Linked DNA regions of Homo sapiens: region 2 is linked to region 1. Evidence: promoter capture Hi-C in human tissues and cell types (Jung and others, 2019). All regions are on one chromosome and are shown on one strand. The core of a region is centred on a gene start or on the middle of the fragment in contact, and the rest is flanking DNA. Distances in the headings are between cores, read along the strand shown.

The links. The method cuts DNA at HindIII sites, captures the fragments that hold promoters and counts their contacts. A contact is called where the count stands out against the background at its distance.
Region 2: a fragment that was not itself captured here is called in contact with the fragment with the promoter of CCK in region 1 in 2 of the 25 tissues and cell types used here (H1 embryonic stem cells and pancreas).

The regions. Positions count from the first base shown.
Region 1 is chr3:42,263,215-42,269,626 of GRCh38, reverse strand. CCK (cholecystokinin) reads left to right here and starts at 3,442. Exons shown (of 5, transcript NM_000729.6): 1 at 3,442-3,943; 2 at 4,190-4,358; 3 at 4,720-4,930; 4 at 5,995-6,210. The coding sequence starts at 5,997. The HindIII fragment of the contact is 4,994 bases long and covers 98-5,091 here.
Region 2 is chr3:42,346,686-42,353,331 of GRCh38, reverse strand. No RefSeq gene overlaps it. Among named protein-coding and RNA genes, the nearest start is that of LYZL4, 61 kb to the left of the region's middle. The HindIII fragment of the contact is 5,410 bases long and covers 1-5,141 here.

The sequences.
Region 1 (6,412 bases), core at 2,193-4,692:
CATAATGTACATACATAGCAAGGTCTACACAGCAGACAGCCTAACAGGGCATCCCCCAGCAGTGGTTTGCATACGTTCATGCGGGTGCCCAGTCCTCCACAGACCCTCCCCCTACTCTACTTTTCTTGAAAACATGTGTGCACCTTCCATGCCTGCTGTGTATTTTTTAAATTGTCTGTCTCCTCCACTAGAATGGAAGCATCACAAGCACAGGGATTTTGTCTGTCTTGCTCACCACTGAATCCCAACAGTGCCCGAAAGACAGTTGGTGTCTTTGATAGGGTTATACTAAAATTAGACAGACTTGAGTACATGTCGTTTATTTGGGAGAGGAGGAAGAAATGAGAAGAGTAAGACAAAGAAGGAGGAAAAAACAACTAAAGAGATGTTATCAGCTGGGCTTGGTGGCTCACACTTGTAATCCCAACACTTTGGGAGACTGAGAAGGGAGGATTACTTGAGCCTAGGAATTTGAGACAAGCCTAGGCAACATGGTGAGACCCTGTCTCTACAAAAAATTAAAGTATTAGCAGAGTATGGTGGTGTGCACCTGTGTTCCCAGCTACTCAGGAGGCTGAAGTGGGAAGATTGTTTAAGCCAGGAAGCCGGGTTTGCACCACTGCACTCCAGCCTGGGTGACGGAGTAAGACCCTGTCTAAAGAGAGAGAGGGAGAGAGAGAGAGAAAAAAAAAAGAGAGAGAGAGCTGTTATCAAGTTCACCGATACAGGCAAAGGACCGTTGAGAAGTCTTTAGAAGCTTCCAGAAGGGTTCATACAGAGAGACTGGGGTTCCCATTCCCCACTGGCTGAAGATTGTCTTTCGGGGAGATAACACCCAAACTTACAGGCTGAACCTCTGCAAGGGCTGAACTTTGAAGGAGATAAGCCAAGAGGGGTGCTTTGAAAGCTTGAAGTGGGAATGCTGTCTGCTGAAAACTGCCCAGCCTGGCTAGGCTGCAGCTGAAGCCAGAGGGAGAACGTGGAACTGTGGTGAGGAGCACCAAAGGCATCTGCCTCAGGAGACATCAAGCCCATTTTTTTAAGTGAACAAATGGATTATCTTTAATGCGGATATGCATCTGGATTACAGGAATAGTGTCGGCTCCAGGCCTAACTTGCTTAGGAACCATAGTCAGAATAATTAGTACCTGTTGACCCTGTAAGAAGGAAAAATCATGACTATGGCCAAGGAGTTCAGATCCCTTATGTCTTTCTATTTTCCTAGCAGCTCTTCTATCACACATTTCCTGCTCAGAATTTCCACTCCTGAGAGACAAGCGGCTACAACTGCTTTATTTTACAATAAAGAGGCAAGCAGCTCTCTTGATCGTAAATGAGAAAGGCCCATGCACAAGCCCTTCTTCAGCTTCTGATGGTCCCTGTCACCTCTGGCTCTGCACTGGCATTTCCACGCTGGCCTCCTTGGCCCACTTGTCTGGTTCTGTACCAGCTCTTTTTCCTCCACCCACTCCTTCACGCTGTCACTCCTCAGCGGTCTGTCTAGAGGCACCCTGCCACCCATTGCTAGCTGCCTTCCTCAACTCTCCCTATAACTCCCAGGCTGGCAGCCACCACCCACATGCCAGACTCTGGGTCCACCCCTCCAGTGTCTCTCTGCTCAGGACAAAGGCTCCCAAACTCCTCCTAGACTGTCAATGCACAAACGATCAACCAATCCCATACTGGACTCATTACCCGCTCCCCACTGGCCCACTACCACCACGGCCACACTCCAAGCCTGCTTTTCCTTCTGAATTCCCTGTCTTGGATAATACTCTACCACCCACCCTTGTCTCCCAGCCTGGAAACTCAAGGTCAGTCTCAGTCACCAAGTCCGGTTCCCTCTACCAGTTTCCTGAGCAGCAACAGGTTGTTCCCTGGGAGGCTGGAATTTTTCTTCTTTTCTCTACTTTTGTTTTCTGAATGTTCTCTGATGAACACTTATGACTTGCATAATGTTTATTATGTTTCCTAATAATTAATGGGTTTCATAATGGCTTATTATTCTAAAACAAATCTACCTTGATTGTTCCTGCTTGCCCATCCCCGAGGGCCTCCTATCCAGCCCTCCCCTTCCAGTCCCTCTGCCTTTTGGGCATCTTCCATATTACCACCTAGCTCCCCTCACCAAAACATTTCTCCAAGATTACCTCCTACCATCTCCACTCCATAGTCCCCAAATATCAGAATTGTTGAGAAGTGTTTGTCCACTTGTTTGCTTCAGCTCCCCTATTGTATTGTCAGCTCTTGTTCATACTGAATCCCTGGGGCCTGGCACAAAGTAAGTGTTGAATAAACATGAATTAAATGGATCAAGGCCAGGAGTTGAGTAACTGGTATAAGGTAGGGAATTTCTATAGAAATGATCTCAAAGTGTGCTTGGCGGACTAGCATTTTCAGTATGGCCTGGGAACTTGTTAGAAATGTAGATTCTTGGTGGGGCGTGGTGGCTCACGCCTGTAGTCCCAGCATTTTGGGAGGCCAAGGTGGGTAGATCACCTGAGGTCAGAAGTTCGAGACCAACCTAGCCAACATGGTGAACCCTTGTCTCTACTAAAAATATAAAAATTAGCCAGGCATGGCTGCACATGCCTGTAATCCCAGCCGCTGGGGAGGCTGAGGCAGGAGAATCGTTTGAACCTGGGAGGCAGAGGTTGCAGTGAGCCGAGATCATGCCACTGTACTCCAGCCTGGGCGACAGAGTGAGACTCTGTCTCAAAGAAGGAAAGGCAAGGAAAGGAAGGAAGGAAGGAAGGAAGGAAGGAAGGAAGGAAGGAAGGAAGGAAGGAAATGAAGAAAGAAAGAAAGAAATAAAGAAGAAAGAAAGAAAGAGAGAGAGAAAGAGGGAAAGAGGGAGAAGGAGAGACGGAGGGAGGGAGGGGGGAAGGAAGGAAGGAAGGAGGGAGGGAAGGAAGGAAGGAAGGAAGGAAGGAAGGAAGGAAGGAAGGGAGAGAGGGAAAGAGGGAAGGGGAGAGAGGGAGGGAAGGAGGGAGGAAGGGAGGGAGGGAGGGAGGAAGGAAGGGAGGGAGGGAGGGAAGGAGGGAAGGAGGAAGAAAGGAAGGAAGGAAGGAAGGAAGGAAGGAAGGAAGGAAGGAAGGAATTCGGATTCTTGGGCCCTTCCTCAGACCTACTGAATTAGAAGCTCTGGGGGTATTTCGATAACAAGTTTATGTTTCCAGACATGTCTTGCCACAATCACAAATAAGACTCTTTTTCGCAACTGAACTACACAAACCTTAGCAGGCTCGTGGCGAAACCACTGGAAAGCATTTAATCAGCTTCAGCTCTTTCAAACATGTTGCCCATAGGTTGCAGAAACGCAGCTGCCTCTCAGGATTAGAAAGTGGAGCAGCAACCGGAGGCGTCTCTGGGCCGCCCCCCCAACCCCCCCACCCCGCCTCGCCCACTCCACCCTCACACTGGCGTTGCCACAGTCCCTCCATTCCAGAGGGAATTCCAGAGCGGAATACGGATTCCGATTTTAAAATAAGCGCTTCTAAATCTTTCTCCTTGCATCTAAGACGGGTGGGGGAAAGAAAGGGAGAGGAGTTGAGGTCCCAAGGTTCAAGGCCTGGTGATCTCCAGGTCCCAGGCTGGGCGGCCTCGGTGCACGGAGAGGGCGAGGGGCGTGTTGTGGAGCCTTGGCAAGGCGCTGCTCTTCCTCGCGCCTCGGTTTGCGGTCTGTGAAATGGGGTTGGCAGTGCCTTTGCAGGGACGCGGCGAACTCAAGCACCAGCAAGCGGACTCGAACTCAAAGGGTTTCAGGGTGTAGACGACCAGAGCGCACTGAGGGGCTCCAGGTCGGCCCGCTCCGGAGCCGGGAGAGTAACCGCGTGCAGGGAAAGGCGCACGGCAGCCTCGGTGCCTCCCTTCCCTCCACCGGACGGGTGACTGACTAGGGGTGAGGTCCTCACCTCCAGGCTGCGCAGCTGAGTTCTGGAAGGTACTGTCCTGGGGGTGTGAGTGTGTGGGCCCTCAGGAAAGGTGCGAGGGGCGGATGCCGTGGTCTACCCGAGCTTGCGGGGGTGCGGTGGTCAAGTTCCCCAGGACCCTCGCTGGCGCCGCTTGTCGACAACGGGGAACAGTGGGCGCCGCGGGTGGTGGTAACTTGGCCCGGGAAGAAAACACATCCCTTTCCCAAACCGGATTCCTCTGAGCAAAACCAGATGGTGTCATCCGCATTTTACAGCTGCGTCAAGAGAGGCCCAGGACACCAAGAGCCAGCTGTGGCCAGAGCCCTTTCACTGACCCAGAACACTGGCCCTCGGAAACCTGGAGAACTGCGAGGGCTTTTAATGCGGCTGAGAAGAAAGTGAAGACCCCGACTCCTCCTCTCTCCTTCGAAAGAGCCGACACAGGTATGAAGACCAGCGCCTCGGACGCTCCGGGGTAGGGGGCCGACGCCCCCTCCCTTTCAGAATCACGCCTTGCTGATGCTCAGTCCTGCCCAGTGTCCACCCCCCACCCCCGCCCCCAGTTTCCTTTCTAGCCCCTCCGGTCCCCAAAGCGAACTAAGCTAGCGGCAGCTTCTCCATCCCGGAGGAGACTCCAAACTCCTAGGTTTCCCACCTTGGAGAGTACTGCTCTGGAATGCGCAGGGGAGCGGCACCTGGAAAGGGTTGGGCGGAAGCTTCTCGGACCCAGAGGGGGCGGACACCCGGCACCGCGCGTGGGAGGGATTAACTCCACCCCACTAGACCACCTCCCCCTCTCTCCCAGGAGCCACTTCAACCGGTTGTCGCCCCAGTGGCCGCCCTCTGAGCACGTGTTACTGCCAGTCTGCGTCAGCGTTGGGTAAATACATGACTGGCCGACGCCGCCGGGTGGGGCTATTTAAGAGACAGCCGCCCGCTGGTCCTCCCTGAACTTGGCTCAGCTGCCGGGCTGCTCCGGTTGGAAACGCCAAGCCAGCTGCGTCCTAATCCAAAAGGTAGGTCCCTCGGTTCGTCAGCGGGGGATCCAAGTGTCGTGTGTCTTTGAAGGATGCTGTCTTCAGCTTTGTGCCCATTTCCATTATGCTTTTCTATTTTCTGTGTCTTCCCTCCGAGAGCTCGAAAGACATTTCTTGAAGTCAGAAATAACGGCTCTGGGTCTAAAAGTGAGGTCTGGGTGGGTAGAGCTGCTTTAGAGCCTTTCATACGCCAGCATCATTAAGGGATGAACTACCCATTCGCTAAGATTCGCATGCAGATTGAGTTTGCTAGCTGTTACACAGCGGTGCGGGGGACTTTGCAATCTTTTCTAATAAAATATTAGAGGGTTTTAAGATTTAAATTCATTTTCTAAATACTGCAGAAAATTTCGAGGCTTTACGGATAGAAACTTGAGGGTGTTTTATCCACTAGCGATCTAAAATGCACGGGGCTTTCGAAGCCTGAGCGCTGGGCACATATTTCTGATTTTAAAACCTGCCTATGTTCTGCGTAGTGGCTTATTGCCATTTCCCACGTACACTTTGAGAAAAACTTTATAAATACGGCTTTATTTATTGCTCCTACATTTTAAACTGTGCTTCTCTTTTTCATCATTTACTGTATTTCCATATTGAAAGCTTGTTAGCTATCTGGAAAAGTGCTTTCCCCAGGGTTCTCATTTCTCCCACGGAGTCTTCCCTTTAGGATATTTTTTTCACACTATTTTTAATCTCGTGGGGTTTTATTTTTCTTCTTTCGGTTAGAAGAGAGGCACTCTGCAAACACTTCCTCAAACTTTAGGAAAGCAAAAACATTCCTTCTGCTCAACACGGCAGAAAACAGGGTCTCTGCCCCTTGGCGCTGGGTGAGGAGTTCCCAAAGACCAGCCAGGTGCGCCCGGGGGCGCGCGCCATGGCACTCGGCTGGGGTCAGCGCTTGGCGAGCCCTCGTGCTTGCGGCGGCCTGGCGGGTCTGGAGCACCTGTGTTTGTCCTAAGCCCGCTTCTGGGTGCCCGGCCCGCCGCAGGAGCTCTGTTGCCCAGCCTTTCAGTTAACGCGCCCTCCTCCTTTGCTCGCTACAGCCATGAACAGCGGCGTGTGCCTGTGCGTGCTGATGGCGGTACTGGCGGCTGGCGCCCTGACGCAGCCGGTGCCTCCCGCAGATCCCGCGGGCTCCGGGCTGCAGCGGGCAGAGGAGGCGCCCCGTAGGCAGCTGAGGGTATCGCAGAGAACGGATGGCGAGTCCCGAGCGCACCTGGGCGCCCTGCTGGCAAGATACATCCAGCAGGCCCGGAAAGGTAAGAATGCTGCCTCCCCATCCCTCACTTCTGCCCTTGTTCCCAGGCTCCCGATGCTGACCCTCTTCTCTAGCGCTAGCCTGATGGGGATGACCTCTCTCGGTAGGAAACAAGCAACATGATTTCTGGCGGTCCTTTGTAGCAATCTGAGAAGGGGTATGGAGGACTTAATTTATAAGTAAGGGGAACCTTCTTGAAAAGC
Region 2 (6,646 bases), core at 1,187-3,686, 85 kb before region 1:
GCAGAATGAACACTTCTGCTGTCACCAGACTCATTGATAAGACCATCCTGAGGCAGCTGAAAGTGTTCACCCATATCCCATCAGAGACCCTTGCTATTTCAGCGCATGGTGTCAGCCTGACTGCCATCAGCCATCTTTGTTGCCTGCAGGAGGGAAGGAGTGGGAAGAACCAGGGAATTACCATCTGGGCCAGTCCTTAAGCCATGACTGGCAGGTGTGAATTCCCCAGCTTTGTTACCTTTCACTGTTTCCCAGAGTTTCCTCTTAAGCTTAAGCACCAGTTCCATATTGCAGTAGCTGGTGTGACAGCACACACTTACTAGCTGCCTTCCCTTGCTCAAATATCTTTCTTCTTCACCTACCCATGTTCCTTCCACTTCCCAAATAAACTACTTGCACTCATATCCTTATCTGAGGGTCAGCTTCTGGGGGAGCTCAAACTAAGACCCATGTGTGAACCTTGCTGTGAGCAACTATGTCCATATTCCCTCACACTTTAGAACATTCATTTCCTCCTAGACCTTCTGAGTCCTTGTTCACCACCCAGCCTTCTGAACTTTGCTACAGGTTTTCCTGCTGTGTCCCGCATCCTGGGGATGTGCCCCAGGAGCCTCTATGGGCAGAGGACTAGGTGGTTCTGGGGACCCTTTGCCCTGTATTAGCCTGAATGGCTCTGCTTTAACCTGTTTACATATGAATTTAATTTGAAAAAAGAGTTCTATTACTGCCACTGAAGAGAAAAGGTGATTCCCAGATGAGAATCTGCTTTTAATGAGTTGAGCTCCTCAGGATCCTGAGTTTACAAGCCTGTGCCTTTCCACCATGTAGGCCCTCATGGAGGTGTCTGCTGACCTTGCCCCATGGCTGCCGCCCTGGCATCACAATAGCAGCCTGAGCAAAGGATGTGGTCCATGGCCACTTAGGCCCTCTGAAGAGAATCGAGGAAACGTTTCTCTCCCTTCCTGAATCTCCAGTCTATACTTCTGGTTCCACATCTTTCCTCATACATTCCTTCCAATCCAGGCAAATGGACTATTCACTTTTCCTATTTTGCAAGGACACTGTCCTTACTTGGCATGTGTGGTAGACGAAATAATGCCCCCCACCCAAGATATCCACTCCCTAGTCCCAGGAGCCTGTGAATGTGTTACTTCACATGGCAAAGGCGATTCTGCAGATGTGGTCAAATTAAGGATCTTGAAGTGGGGAGGGTGTCCTGGATTATGCAGCAGGGGTCCCAGTGTAATCACCAGATCCTTACATGAGAGACGGAGGTGACAGTGGTCAGTCAGTGTGATGCAATGTGAGAAACACTCGACCAGCTGTTGCTGGCTTTGAAGATGGAAGGGAGCCTTGAGCCAGGGAACGTGGGCTACCTCTAGAAGCTAGAAAAGGCAAGAACTCAATTCTAGAGCTTCCATAAGGGGACACAGCCTGTTGACACTTTGATTTAGCCCAGTGAGATCCATTTCAGACTTCCGACCCCCGGAACTGTGAGATAGTAAATCTGGGTTGCTTTAAGCCACTGAGTTTGCAATAATTTGTTACAGCAGCAATAGGAAACTCATACAGTATCTTATGCTGCTCCCTCTGTCTGGGACACCTACCTTTCCCCACTCTCATCTCCACAAGTCCTCCCCAACCTTTCAAGGTCCAGCTTCAGTTCCCCCTCTTATCACGGAACTTCACTTGTCCTGCCTCTCCCCCCGAGCTATTATCCACCCCTTGGGAATTGTCCAACACATCCCCAGCTCCACAGCCCAGGCCCAGGACTGTCCTTCTGCCCTTAAAACACTGTGGTCAATGGCACCAGTTTTTCCCTTCAGCACAACTGGTGCAGACATTTTCAAGAATTCTACTAAAAATCAAAGGGGAAAAGGAATGATCTTCCAAACCACAAACATGAGAAAAATGTGTTATGCTCTCAAGTACAATTTTTTAATTCAAAAAATCCAAGTAGCAGTAGAATGCTGCCAATAGCAACCCTGAGGCACTGTCCTGGCTTCCTGCCCTCCTCCTCCCTGCTGGCTCTCTCCCGGATGATGTCTTGCCCACCGTGGAGCCATCTGATCCCCTCTGGGGCCTCCCACATTTATAGGTTCACACCTTCTGGAGCTCATTTGCTCACTCAGTTCTAGTACGAGGGCCTCAACCAGTCTGCAGCCTTTGGAAGGGCTCTCCTGATGGTCACAGTGGCAGGAGTGCCATATAATTCATGGTCCAAACTAAAACACTTTAGAGAGTAAAAGGAGGTATTAATTGTGCTTGAGTCAGGCGTGGTGGCTCACACCTGTAATCCCAGCATTTTGGGAGGCCGAGGCAGGTGGATCACTTGAGGCCAGGAGTTCAAGACCAGCCTGGCCAATATGGTGAAACCCTGTCTCTACTTAAAGGATACAAAAATTGGCTGGGCATGGTGGCACGCGCCTGTAGTTCCAGCTACTCGGGAGGCTGAGGCAGGAGAATCGCTTGAACTCGGGAGGCAGAGGTTGCAGTGAGCCAAGATTGCAACACTGCACTCCAGCCTGGGTGACAGAGCGAGACCCCATCTCAAAAAAAATAAAAAATAAAAAATACATTGTGCTTGAAGAATGAGTGTAAACCCGACTGTCCTGGGCAAACCACCCACCTCAGCAGTGAGGGGTCTGACTCTTGCTGGCTTGGGTTGTTTGAGGACCCACTTGGGAGCAGCCAGCGCTGCTCTCCTCAGTTCATTTACTAACGCTGATAAAGGGAACAACGTGCTAACCTCATGCTAACCACCCAGACATAAAAGATACAGTCAGACACTAGCAGAAGGCCAAATCAGCGGAGGGTTAAGAAGCGTTCTATGGAAAATTGTGCTCTGTGCTCAGATAAGTCTGGAAAAGCTGTTTTGCATAAGAGTATTTAAGTTTTGGTCTTTAAGTGCAGGACTTCTCAGGACCTTTAATATCCTAATGTGGGTTATGAAGCTCCAAGAAGAAAATACAGTATGCCGTATTTCAGATTTATTTTCCTGTGGCATATGGCCCCCTCAGAATACATTTGGTTGCTTTCCAGGAATCACATATGGTTCCTTCAGGGATTGTTTGAGGCAGATCTGAAATATCAAAGTGGCTAGTATTCTCTGATTTAGGAAATCCAAGTTCCCTTTCACTAAGGAAGCCTCCAGAGATAGATGGCTTATCCCTGAAGAGTCCTTGGAATCCATAAGCCATGTTTCTCTGGATGTGGTAGGAAAGGCTCTGGGGAAGGGAGGGGGTGTTGACAGGCACATATTGAGTGACTGCTTGTATCAGGTAAAATCTGGCCGGGGCTCCTTGTCTCCTGAGTGATGGTTGTTTTAGCAGTTGCGTTATCTTTTGCTAAAAAACCCAGGGGATTCTAGAGTGTCAAGCGATAACAGGGTGGGGCTTCTATCTTCAGCCTTACCCTTGGACCTGAGGCCTGAAGATAAGCCTGCTTCTTATCACAGATTTATTTTTACTATCTTCCAAGCCTGGGACAACAGCTGTTTATAGGGGATGGTTGAGTTGAGTGTTGATTCTGCTGTGGAGGAGGCAAAGTCCCTGCAGTCTGCACATTCGACAGTCTTCATCCATAAGGCATGAGGCCGGAGACCCGTAAAAAGAGTACATTCCTGCGATGGCCCACAGTTGATTATCCACACAGGAAAAATGAAGAACATTTCTTCCTCCAAGAGTCAGTATTTATCATCTCCCTGTTTCTGTCATCATCCTGGGCTTTTATTCCTAGACAATTTTGTACCATTGAGTGCTTTATGATTAGAAATAAATCAGTCCAAGTGTGGTGGCTCATGTCTGTAATCTCAGCACTTTGGGAGCCCAAGGTGGTAGGGATGCTTGAGCCCAAGGGTTCTAGACCAGCCTGGGCAACATAATGAGATCCTGACACTACAAAAAATTAAAAAAATTAGCTGGCCTGGTGGCACATGTTTCTGACCCTGGCTTCTTGGGAGTCTGAGGTGGGAGGATTGCCTGAGCCTGGGAGATTAAGGCTGCAGTGAGCTGTGACTGCACCACTGCACTCCAGCCTGAAAAACAGAGTGACAGCCTGTCTCAAAAAACAAAGAGAGAAAGAGAAAGAAAGAAAGAAAGAAAGAAAGAAAGAAAGAAAGAAAGAAAGAAAGAAAGAAAAGAAAAGAAAAGAAAAGAAAAGAAAAGAAAAGAAAAGAAAAGAAAAGAAAAGAAAAAAGAAAAGAAAAAGAAATAGATCAAAGCTCATCATATCAACCAGGAACAGTGCACACCCAAGGATTCTGAGGACGAACACGCTGTGTGGTGGGGAGACCACTGATGAGGAAGTCGGAAGACCCAGGCCTGTCTCCAGTGTTTTGCCCCTTACCAGCTCTGGGCTTCAGGGTTTTCGTGTTTGTTTGTTTTTAATCCATAAAATAAGATTTTGAATGAGATTATAATAACCAAGTGTCCGGTATATCATTTGTATCAAATGTAGCAGCATCAAAGTTTACTAACCAAGAATAAGAAATGCATTAATTTTGTGTGTGTACACGCACACACACACACACACAAACACACACACACATTTGACCACATCGTGCTTTAGAGTTATTTCCTTCTAAAAGCAAAAAACATTTACATTTACCAATTAAAGGTAATTCTGCCTCTTCTAATTCGACTGTCTCTTTTGTGTAAATATTCAGTTAATTCTAAGTTCAGCTTGCTGTCTGAAATGATGATACTCATCTCCCAAGGAATCTCCTTACCCCTCTTCCTTTCCAAGGCACCTCTCGAGGCAGGGGAAGACACATGGATTCTCCTGGAGTGGTGGGTAGGTAGGTCTGGGCTCCATGTGCTGTCCTCCAGGGCCCTGCCAACCTCCTCTGGGTGGCTCCCCACTCCCACCTTGGCTGCTGGTTTCCCTGCACTGGTGTCCACTAAGCTTTGGTGGCTCCTACCTTGTCTTGGGTACAGAGCAAGTTTCATGCTGATGGCCATGATCCCTGCCATTGCCCCTGGTCAGGGTGTCTCTCACTATAAGCCTTTTTGTTCCAACTCTAGGGCTGTTGATACTTGCATGTACTCTCTGGTGGCACCTGTGGCTCAAGGCTGCCAGGAGCACCATGCCCATCTCACCACCTGGCACCTCCGTCCACCAATGCTGCTCTAAAGCTGGCACACCATGTTGGGTCTGAGATCTGAGGCTCCTGTCATCTTTTCTCCCTGCCACTCTGAGTCAAGGCTTGGGGGTGGGGCATTCTAGATCTCTTCTTAGAGCCTCAGGTAGTATCTAAACTTCCATCCTGTCACCTCCCCATTTCCTGTTGTCAGTGTCCTGTCCCCAGCTCTGCAATCATCTCCTGGTACTCTACATTACGCTTAGAGTAAAATTCTCTGTGCATGGACCTCCAAGCTTTGTATTGATATACTGAGGCATTTAGTCCAAAGGGTACAGATATTCCAGGTCCATGATACTTTTATTAAACAGAAATAAATTCCATAACAGTGAGAAGATGGGAAAGAGGAGATAGATACACAGATACAACCACTCTTAGACTCAGTCAGGATGACATAGAAAGAAAGATCTGAAGATGGAACAGAATATAATGCACAGAGCTGTAGAGGCCATTGTCCCCTCAGCTTTGAATCCAACTTAACTTTGGAACAAGACTTCCAGAATTTTCTTTGCTACATAAACCCTGCTGTGGGTAACAGGTGCCCAACTCTGCACACAGGTGTGCTGGGCCCTAAGAAATGTCTCTACTGAGTCCACTCCTCACCAAGGCCGAGCAGGGCTAGAAGCCTGATGTCCCTGATGTCCCGGGGCTCAGAGTCACAGGTTGCTCTGTAATACAAGACTGATTTTGCAGCTGGGTTGGCGATTCTAATTTCCACCACTTCTTGCTGGAAAATGTCTTAGACATTCAAAGCAAAATGTAGAGTAAGTGAACTCATTAAAACCACAAATCATTTGACCTAGGGATAAAAAGTTACACAAAATCTAGTTAGTTTCTAAAAAAGCTACGTGGAATTTATTCAAGCTATTAGATTTAGCAAATGTAAGACCACAAATATAAATGTTTAAGCTGGAAGAAATCTAAGCTCAGAGGTTTCTATTCTACAAACCAAGTTTATTTCAAAAAAGAAAAAAGCTCTCCTTCCTTCTCACAGGTTCTTTTTTCACTCCAAATAAGCCTAGGTTGGCACAGGAAGCCAGAGTCACGGGGCTGGCTGTCGAAATGCCACGGATTTGGCCATGCAGTGACTATTTAACAATCCCACCTTCTTATCAAGCCAAATGCCATCATCTTATTAAAATTTGCTGCTTTAATTTGTGCAGTAGCAACAGAAAAAAATAAATACAAACTAAAATGTACTTCTGAACAGATTTAAAGTTGCATTTTAAGTTTTGTCAGATGCTCTATTGACTCTGTCTCCTGAACACCTCTTGGGTCTATTCACCCTTTCTAATCTGATGACCATTACTGATTAAAACCCTTGTCGGCCAGGCACGGTGGCTCATGCCTGTAATCCCAGCACTTTGGGAAGCCAAGGCGGGCAGATCACGAGGTCAGGAGATCGAGACCATCCTGGCTAACACAGTGAAACCCCATCTCTACTAAAAATACAAAAAATTAGCTGGGCGTGGTGGCGGGTGCCTGTAGTCCCAGCTACACGGGAGG